Linked DNA regions of Homo sapiens: region 1 is linked to region 2. The links are contacts of gene promoters, found by promoter capture Hi-C in human tissues and cell types (Jung and others, 2019). All regions are on one chromosome and are shown on one strand. Each heading gives the region's core, a stretch centred on a gene start or on the middle of the fragment in contact. The rest is flanking DNA. Distances are from core to core; before and after follow the strand shown. Region 1 has its middle 66 kb from the start of DAAM1. Region 2 holds the start of LRRC9 (leucine rich repeat containing 9).

Region 1 (5,530 bases), core at 21-2,520, 800 kb after region 2:
ATTTAATTAATGAGTTAAATGAAAGTTTGACATAAGCATGTTTTATATTTGCATGAGAATCATGATTGTTCCTCCTCCCATCCCCAAAGATCCTTCAACACCCAATATTAAGTAACAAGCTGAAGGAGAAGTCTGGGGGACTTTTCTTACTTGGTTTTTATGGGAGTTACATCATTGGTAATCCGAAGTTTTGTTCCCTTGCCCTCCCTGAAGTAAAGGGTGCAACTGAGAGTGACTGAGACTACCCACCTTCCCACGTGGTCTTCCCGTGTGATCACTCACTTGGTGAACCTGTGTTTGTGCAAAGCATTTCTGAAACTCCTCTGCTGAAAGTACCTACAAAATCTGCTGCAGAGTCTTCAGATTTGCAGCATTGTGTGAATTTCACTAGACATCAGGCTTTGGTATTGGTCAGCCCTACTTCAAATTCTAGCTCTCCATGCACTAGGTGGAAGTTATCAGATGTTTCTGTTTACTCATCTGTAAAATAGAGCCGTTATAGAGTGAATGAAACAATGCGTATTATAGCTGGCATGTAATATGTTCTCCATAAATCTTACCTATTATTGCTACGTAGAGAGAAAAACATGGGACCTCCTTTCTTCCTTGGTCCTGCTGACGTGTAGCTCTGCAGTAACATCTCTGGTGCTGATGTTTCAGGCCAGATTGACATAGACAGGACTACACCCATTTAGGCCTGTGTAGGGCCTGAAGGATCTAGGTGTCTGGGTGGATTGGATCAGGAAATTTCCTGGAGTGAGTAGACCCGGATTTGACCTTTCAATTTCTTGATTGTGGGAAAGTCAAGGCATGGTGAGTGGCAGACGGTAGCTAAGGGCAGTGGCCACGTAACAACTGCTATGGAAATTTTACAAATTTAATAATTGGTATGGCACTGCTGAGTAAAACAAAGCCCTGGGAGAGGGTAGGTGAGCTGAATTGGGAGCAAGGGGACATCTTTCCAGACACCCTTAAAGTGGATGCAAAGATGGCTATAGACAGCCAGGTCACCAAGCAAAGAACTTCTTTGCCCTCCTTCTGATGGGTTTTGTCTGATGGAAACAGCTAATATGGAGAATTTTTTCAGTTGTGGGCTCTACCATCCCACCCTTCTAATACAGATTTCAACTGCTGGTAGATTTTACTATTGAACCAGGACAGAAACAAAAAGGAAGCTTAAATATCACAGCAGCCAATGACACCGCTGTTCCTTTGAGACACCTCAAAGGTGTCAGTTATACAAACTACGTTTATTCACTCCTTTTCCCTCAACAAATAATTTCCATATAATACGAAGAAGTGACTCTGAAATTTGCATTTTAGGCAGAAAAAGGAAATCTGATACCAGTGAACCAATGTAAACGAATTTTTATTTAAAGAGGCTATAAAAGAACATTCTGGATATTATGTGTATCATTATTTTGGTTACTTTGCAGTGTTATTGACGTTTAACTTCAAATATCCAGTAGAGGGCATGAAAGGAATTGGTTTTGTTTGGGCTCACTATGCTGAAGATAGAATTTGAACACTGGAAATGAAAAAGCAAATGGATTATATATTGCAGCTTTCAGACAGGGAATGACAAGCTTTAGATATCAACCCAATATATACTGCAACCTTTCTTTTTTCTTATATCGTATCTTATATCCTTCATTTAAAATTACTTAATCCTTGAGAATTAGATTTAGCTATTGAACAAAATACATATGAAATCATTAAATATCACTGATTTGTATTCACATCTATTAGAGACAAACCTGAAGAATATACCAAACTTTAGTACATGATGACATAGTATCCATGAAAAGCAAAGTTCTACCCTCTGGCGGAAACCCTTCACCTTTAGAATGCAAGACTGCTCTCAGCATCCCCTTCCTGCTTCAGATCTCAAATCAGGCGCTGGAAGCAGGACAAGAACCTTTCACAATCAGCCTTGGTGCCAAGCTTGACTCAGGATTGACTTAGCAATTGTTGCTTTCTCACTCATTTGTGACTTTGGTGGAAAAACAGAAGAAAAGCGCATACCTCCACTACATTTAATGAGTGCCTACAGTGTGCTAGATACTATATTAGATACTTGAAAAATAATTTTAATCTTTATAAGACCCCTACAAAGCCAAATTTATTATTCCCATTTTTCTGAGGCTCACAGAGGTTGCAAATTTCATGGCATTTCCCTGCATGCTGGTCTGCTCTATTTCTCATAAAATCTTTGGGAAGTAAGAAATAAATCTTTATGAAAAGATTGGGATCTAGAATTCTTAATTTAAATAATAAAATAACAAACCAGGTCACTTCTATATCTATATATTTTGGATATTATCTTCCCCTGTATTTTTCATAATCCAGTCCCACATTTGGTTGATAATAATGTGTGTTTCTATTTTTGTTGTTGTTTAAATTTCTCTTTCTGATTAGCTTCTATAGTAGCTCTTCAAATTAACTGGCACCCCTACATTTTGTAAAACTATAAATCTGCTCTAGAGTGGCCACCTTGTCACTGCTCTTATATCGTTCTTTTTATAGATTTTATTCTTTCCTAGTGTTCTTCAGATGAGTTTTAAGGACCACCAGCATTTAAAATATTTTCAAGAGTTTGTTTAAAATAGAAATTATTGGGCCTCAACAAAGATCATTTGAACTAGAATCTTCTGGGCTGAAGCTTAAGAATCTGCGTCTTCACCTACTCCTCAGGTATCTCCCATACACATGAGATTGATGCGCTGGCTTAGAAAATGAGAATGACTGAGTTCAGGCAGCACTCAGTAAACCTTAGTTGTCAATGACTACGACTTAGGTTTCAGGCCACTTCAATTTCCATGTGTTATTTGTTGGCTACCATGCCAACCACACAGGTTAGTAGAAAAAGCATGGCTTTAGGAAGCAAATGTACCTAGATGTTGATCATTTAGCTTCAGTTTCCAACACTTGTAAAATAATGTCTAATTTGCAGTAATTTTTTAACATAAAATGTAATAATACAGATCAATCACAAAACTAGCACAGTATCTGGTCCATATTGGAGTCTCAAATAATGATAGGTTCTAATAAGCATGATACCCCATTAATTAAATACAATATTATTGCTTGGCATTTGAGAGAATAAGCCTCCATTTATAAAGTGAGATGTTTACTGGGAAAGCTTGTTATTATTTGCATTAAATTTAAATTCTAAAGAAAGACCATAATTAAGTATATCTTCTGGAAACAGTTTTCCCAGTAAAGTGATATATAAGTATAATTTGCCTCTTTTGTATATATACAGGTTGCCAGATTTTGGGAGATAATTCTTAAAGGATCTCTCACATTGCGGCATGTTTTGTGAGCAAAGTATTGGTTGCCATTTGTTCTGGACTGTCTCTTCAAGGATGTTTGTATAGCAAACAGCCTTGGCACATAGAATGTCTTCCCCTAGAGCAGGCATGCTTATTGCCCATTGGAAAAGATTCAGATTCCCTAAACTCAAGAATTCCTATCCTAAAATGCAACCGTGTTCAGGCTTCCTTCTGGGTACATGTGTGTCACTCCTGTACAGCTCAGGAGCAAGAGGTGCTGATTCAAATATGCTGACTCTCATGCTGCTTGCTCTGTTTGCCTCTGACCCAGGAATCTCATGTTTTTTGTCAGCATCCATGACATTGTGGCTGACCAGCTTATTAGATTTCAAGTTGGGAAAATTCTCAGACCCATTCATCGTCCTTGACACTATGTAAAAGTACCTTTAGCACAGGTTTAATACTTTTTGTTTTCCTAGCCTCAGTACTTGTGTGGTGAAATCCACAATGACACCTGAAGAAGGAGGTGACTTGACTCGGATTACAGAGCAAGTTCCAAGCTGAGTCTAACTCCTGGACTCATGCTTCCAGCTTTCTGCTCTTTTCTCCAGGCGTTGATACTTTGTTAAACATCCAAGGCAAAGAATATGCAGAGAGAATATGAGTTTATCAAGATAGGTAGACATTCTATCATGGAAAAAGAATGTTTTCTATTGAGTTATTGGGACTTGGGCAAAGCCATCCTTGGCTAATTCTTTTGCTAGCTTTTCCATGAAACAATTGATGGACTGTGCTTCTTCGGTGGTATTTTCATAGAAAATTCAAGTTCATGAACTGCCCAATGATATACAGCACCAAAGTTATATGATGAAAAGCAGAGTTACCAACATTGCCAACAAGCCTTGCGATGAATGGATGTGCTGAGCTAGTACATAAGGAAGGAATTCTGGGTCCCATTGGAATCAGCAGTGATGGAATTCACAGGTACTTAGTGCATGGATGGTGGGAGAGAGGACAGGTTATGTTTGGGGTGGATGGTGCTGAAGGCCACCTAAAATTAGGAGGTAAATACAAGAAATAATTTCACTCAAAATACCATTTCCTTATAAGCTGTTCAGTGCATTTTGGTCCACAAAAGAAAAAGTTAAAATCTTGGAAGTGAAAACAGCTGGAGATCATCAAGCAATCACCAAGAGTTTGCAGAGCACGGCAGCAAGAGTTTGGGACAGATTTTTGAAAACAGAGAACTCTTGATTTAAAGACTGTCAGGGAACTTGGCTGTGTTTTGGACATTGCCTCTACATAGGTCTTAGAGTTCCAGTCAATAAAATAAATGCATATGCTTTACTTAAGCTGAGAATATTCCTGTGCCAGTAACATTCTCTGGAAGGACAAGAAGAGTCCTTCTTTAGTTTAGTATAGTTAGTTCATCAGGCAGCTAGAGGCTCCAGACTGAACAGACATGGAGAGTACAAACGGTGCAAAGTGTCTCTGTCCTTGAATAGCTTACAGTTCAGTAAAGGGAACAGATATGTAAGTACATAATCACAGTAGAGTGAGATATGTGCAATAATAAATATATTTATAAGATGCAGAAGTAGATAATAAGGAGCATTAATTCTACCTTGTAGTAAAGAGTAAAGAAAAGCTTCACAAAACAGGGGACATCTATGTTGGTTTTCTTGCTTTCCCTATTTAATATGAGCCACTAGTAGACCCTTTGTTTCCTTCTTTTAATATGACCTAAAATGATCTAGTCTTCCCTGTTAATAGCATAACCCTCTTAAAAAAGTGCATGGTCTCTTTCTTCGTTTCGCTTCATGGAGGAAATAATTTAAAGTGTACAGTAAGTTTTTTTGCCTATTTGAAATGTTTTTCAACTGTACAGATTTAATAAATTGATACTTTGTGCATATGATTACACAATTTCTGAATGATTGTACAATATGAGTTATTTATCAAGACAATTTGCTTCTTTGGCATAACTATGCTGCAGACCAATTTATTTACTGAGTGCAGGTTCGAATTGAGCTTAACAGGTGAGCCACTGAAACTTAGGGACTGTGGAGATCCTACAATATCTTTTGGAACTAAAGTCTCACACCACGGGTACCTCTGATCTTGATGATGAATGTTCATTTGGGTTCCACAGAAACACAGAAGTTGCTAGCTCTTTTTTTTTTTCCCATTTTAGTCAGTGTAATCTCATGTACACTCTCCACTTCTAACCACAGAGGGTCGAATTGGAAGTGGAT
Region 2 (5,225 bases), core at 1,207-3,706:
ACAAATCCCTTTTCCTATGTATTGATCCTATCCTTATCTGTCTCTTTCAGAATACTGCTGTCAAATTTTCCTCTTTCATTTATTGCCAAATTTCCTTGTCAACGGTCTCCTTTATTTCTGTATATAAATATTAAGTCTTTCCTATCTTAAAAAGTCTCTCCTATATTCTTCTATGAATAGCTGTTTTTAGATACCTTTATGGTACACCTTTTAGATAATCATTAGCAACACATCACTACCTGCTTTCAGTCCTGGATTCACTGCCATCTGGACTGAGAACACCTCAAGCCACTACAAGGTCAAAAATAACCTTCTAATGGCCAAAGACAGCGGACATGTTTTGATTCTCAACTTGACCTTGACATGGCATTTGACAATGCTGACGACTCTCTTCTTCACGTTTTCTTCTTTGGTTCAACTTTTCTCCTTGGCTTCTCTCTACTTGTTATTTCAAACTTACTTTGTGCTTTTCTTCTTTTCTTTTTTCTTTCTTATTTATTTATTTATTTTTTTTTTGAGACAGAATCTCACTTTGCTGCCCAGGCTTGACTGCAGTGGCACAATCTGGGCTCACTCCAACCTCTGCCTCCCAGGTTCAAGTAATTCTTCTGCCTCAGCCTCCCAAGTAGCTGGCACTACAGGCGCGTGCCATCACACCCGGCTAATTTTTGTATTTTTAGTAGAGACAGGGTTTCACCATATTGGCCAGGCTAATCTCGAACTCCTGACCTTGTGATCCACCCGCCTCGGCTTCCCAAAGTGCTGGGATTACAGGCATGAGCCACCGTGCCTGGCCTACTTTGTGCTTTTCAAACCAATTGTTTTCTTCATGGTGAAAAATCCTTATCTTCTTTTCTGTGCAAAAAAAAAAAAAAAAAAAAATCCAACTGCCCACATGAAAAAGCTCCATCTGAATGTGCCACAGGCATCTCAAATTCAGTGTGTTCAAAATTGAACTCATTATATTTTCCAACCAGCCTCCTTCTCCTAATGTATGCCTTCTCTTGAAAAGTAACACCACCATTCTTCTATTGGTTGAGCTATTATCCTCAACCAATCTTTGACTCTATCCCCCTATTTTCATTCACTCATTAAATCCTTCTGCATATACCTCTTAAAGGTCTTACCACATTTTTTTTCCTCCTCCTCATTCCAATTGCCTCTGCCTTGGTTCAGGCCCTCATCACCTCCCCTTAACTTGATGTCCTCCCTGTAGTCTGTCTTCCCTCAAGTTCATCCTCTACACTACTGTGACAGCCTCCTGAAAGGTAAATCTGCTCATGCTTTACCCCTTTGGAAGGTATTAATGGTTTCCATGCTCTGACTCCTGCCTACCTCACATGCTCATCAGCCACAACCTCCACAGAGGACCCTAGGTTCAGGCCACAACTATAGTTCTCTGGAACTGAATGGATGTTTCTGTACTTTGGCATGGGCTGTTTCCTCTCCCTAAAATGTCCTTTTCCCTTGGCTGTATGGCATACTCCATACTTCCCTAAAGATTTAAATCAAAGATCTTCTCTTTGAAGACTTTCATTCTCTCTGGTAGTATTATAAGCATTCTCTTTCTTGTGATTCTGGTTAGGGCTTGCACATACTCTTTGTATAGCACTTGTCACACTGTAAAACAATGTTTACGGGCCTTTCTTCCCTACTAGGTTACATGTTCATTGAAGGCAGAAACTGTGAACCTATCACAGGTTCACTGTCTGGCACATGCTAGTTGTTAAAAAAATTGTTTAATGGGTTAATTGTCATGCCACAGGCATATGGTATAATTTAAAGACATAATCGTTCTCCATGACCAGAGTATAATGATAGAGTAAAAAGGACCATGGTTTCTGTCTGCCGTGAGAGTTGGTTAGGATGTCATTCTGAGAAAACTTTTTTTTTCTCTGCCCAGTAGAAGTCCTGTATGGGTCAAATTATTTCCTCCTTTGGGTATAAAAGGATCAGAATCCATCAGTTACCACTGATGGTCCAAATAAACCCCCTACACTCTCTAGATGAGCAGTGTCAGGTTTGGTTAGGGAGCACTTGGTTTTTCCAGCCCAGAATCTTAATTGGTGCAGTAAAATCTGCATAGTTGGCTGTAGGCCACCCTCCCTTTCCTTCTCTTGAACTTTGTTCTGGTACCCTGACTGCCTCAGTAAAGCCACCTCACTGTCTTTCATCATTATCATCACCATTGCACCATTACGGAGTTCCCTTGACCTCAACTTTGCTTCACTGGCGTCTTCCCCTTGGTATGGCTTGGAAGGAAAAAGAGGGGATCAAAGACTCCCGGTGATGTACGCCCGAAGGCCACCAGGTGACGGATTCTGACCTTATCACAGAGAGAGGGTGGATTCCGGGGCAATCCGATTCAAGTCCGAGTCCACTCCGATTTCCCAATCCCTGTCTTGCAGCAGAAGGTAGGAAACCCTCTCCCGCCCCAGGCCTGGTGTGTACAGACTGCCTGTGGCGGTTGCCTAGGTAACCTGATCTCCGCCTCCGGCGACCTCCGGGTGGGGAGGAGGAGAAAAGGGGCGGGGAGGGGGATAAAAGGGTGGGGGGGAAGCGGAGGCCGACCCGGGTTTGCATCACGTGGTGGCGACCTCCAACCAATCAGCGGAAGCAGGGGTCCAACCGGAAGACCCCACCTGGGGCTCCTGGGAAACGGCGGGAGCTTCTCGCTGGCAGGTTTTTCTGTACCTGCGCTTATCTTTTCACTTACCTTCGCCAGTTCGCGGAACGTGACTGAAAGCAACGCGTTATGGGCAAGGTGGTGGGGACTTATTCGTTACCTCCTCCAGTCTCGCTCTCTCCCATTCATTATCTTTAGCTCTCGGGTCCTGGAAGCGCGGAGCCTCTCTGGCCTTGAGCCCCGAGGGCATGGCCCTGTGATGTCACAAGGTGGCGTGACAGCCGGGACGAACCCCGACCCCCAGCGCGGCATCCTTCCCGCGGCCAGCGACCACCGCCTCCCGGGAAGGTGGCTGACCACAGCCGCAAGCCGCTGCGCGCCCGGCAAGCCGAATGGAAGGACGGCGCGGGCAAACGAACGCCCAGTGAGGTCCAGAGAAGAGAGGGACCTTCCGAGGGTCTTCTAGTCGATCTCGGACAGGCTTTTGAGTGCCTTTTAAGCATTCCAAAATTTTCAGGAGACAACAGTAATTTACAAAATAGAGTAGAATTAAAAGGGGGGAAAGGGGAGACTTTTCAGAGTGGGCAGAGAGGCTGAGAAATGAACTTAGTAAAAGGCAAACCAAAGCAACCGCAGGTCTCGTGTCGTTCTCTGGATCTGCGCAGTCCAGCAGGGTGAGCCGCTACCCACAGACTCGCAGGGCCCATGATCGCTTGAAATGTGGCTTGTCCAAATTGACATGTGCTGTAAGGTACGCATTGTATTTTGAAGGCTTAGTATGAAAAAAATAAACTCTTTCGTTATTAATCTTCATATTGATTAAATGTTGAAATAATATTTTTGATACATTGGGTTAAATAAAAAATATTGTTAAAATTATTGTTTCTATTTTGAAAATGCGGCTGTTAGATAAATTTTAAATTGCATGTATGACTTGAATTATGTTTCTTTTGGACTGTGCTCTCTTTTATGTGGTTCAGTCGGTTTGTGTAGAATAGTTGTGATGTTAATGCAAAATATTGTCTGTAGTGCTTCTTTCTGTCACCAGATGGCCACCTCATTAAATAGACTATAGTTTTGAACTGCTTTCCCAAGAAAAAGTTCAGATTTTAGGAATATTCTCATTTAACAATTGTCAACAATTTCAGCATATTTGCCTTTATTCAATTAACTTTATCTGTAATATAGACCGTTTGTAAAGATACATAAACAAAAATTAACTGGTTTTCCCTCTACATTCTTATTTCACAGAAAATTGTTTCTATCTGTCATTAATAGATAATTCGAAATAAGCTAATTAAAGTTATTTGTGGCTTAGGGGTTTCAAACTAATGCCAGAAAAGTCAGATTCATAGTTTTTACTTTTACTATTATCTTCTCTGAAATGTAGTTGAACAAGGTGACCTGTCTTTGGGGAAGTTTTCTTCATAGAGTATAAAGATGAATTAGAACATAATAGTTGAGATTTCTACACTTCTAGACATAGAAATTTGAACAGAAACCAGTTCAGCGAATTATCTACACTAAGTTTCTTAATTTGAGGGGTCCAGCTCTGGGATGAAAGTATAAACATTATCAAAGTATATTTTTAGGAATCTATTGGGATTTTCCTGACCAGTGAAAGACTAGGAGAGAGCTAACAGTTTTCTTTACATGATATAAACAAATAATTTTAAGATTGTTATTATTCTAGGTAAAGCTCAAGGATCTGGCCAGTCAGCAACTGAGTCTGAGTTCTTGCATAGCTGTAGACTTAAGAACTATTGGTGACTTGCCAAAATAAAGCCTTTGTCCACAGGGTAAGTCTTAAGAGAATCACCTTCTGTTCACATATTCGAAATGTTGTTTGAAGCAAAAGATGCTTACAGTTAAAAGCCATAGAAGCAATGCAAAAAGAGTGATCATTTTTGTTAATCTCCTTTTCTCACTTTAAAGTAGCTTTATTATAAGGTTTTATGTCTGAACAAAAAACGCTGGAAATTGAAACTACTGAAGAGTCAAGCAAATTAAGTAATCATCTAATTGAAATAAGACTTCACTTTATTCACCTCTGATCATACTAGACAAAGGCCAAGCCATATTAATTTAAATCTATTTATTTATGGGTAAAGGCATCTTGAATCTGAAAACAACTGGAAAGAGATATTACCACTAATTATAGCAAATTTGCTATATCATATCCTGAATTAAAGAATCACTTATTTTAACAAAATAGAGGTGACTTTGCAGACCCAAATAAGAAAATCTTGAATTACATAGTTATTTGTTAATTAGAACCTTTTAAATAGATTGTTAAATTTATTTTTCAAAGCAGCCCTATCCTTATTGGTAGAGAACTGTGGAGACATCTAATTTCAATTCTCCCTTTTAATAGTGCCTTTACTTCCAGAGAACCAAGTCTGGAGGTTTTAAATGCTAATTCGATTTTTATATTTGTGTAGACATTTGATCCTTATGTAAATGAGTCCTTTCCAGCTAATGATTTTATCTGTAAAAATTTACTGTTTCACATTTAAATTTGATATATCATAAAAATCACAAATGCATCACTACTTAGGGTTTACTTTGTCACTGGAAGATATAATTATGTGGTGCTTAT

What was found. Contacts are between HindIII fragments. The study calls those that stand out against the background at their distance.
Region 1: a contact is called between a fragment that was not itself captured here and the fragment with the promoter of LRRC9 in region 2, in 1 of the 25 tissues and cell types used here (hippocampus).

The regions. Positions count from the first base shown.
Region 1 is chr14:59,120,122-59,125,651 of GRCh38, reverse strand. No RefSeq gene overlaps it. Among named protein-coding and RNA genes, the nearest start is that of DAAM1, 66 kb to the left of the region's middle. The HindIII fragment of the contact is 5,527 bases long and covers 1-4,033 here.
Region 2 is chr14:59,917,375-59,922,599 of GRCh38, reverse strand. It overlaps LRRC9 (leucine rich repeat containing 9), which reads right to left and starts at 2,456. Exons shown (of 33, transcript NM_001395648.1): 1 at 2,327-2,456. RefSeq lists an enhancer at 2,097-3,296. The HindIII fragment of the contact is 18,773 bases long and covers 1-5,225 here.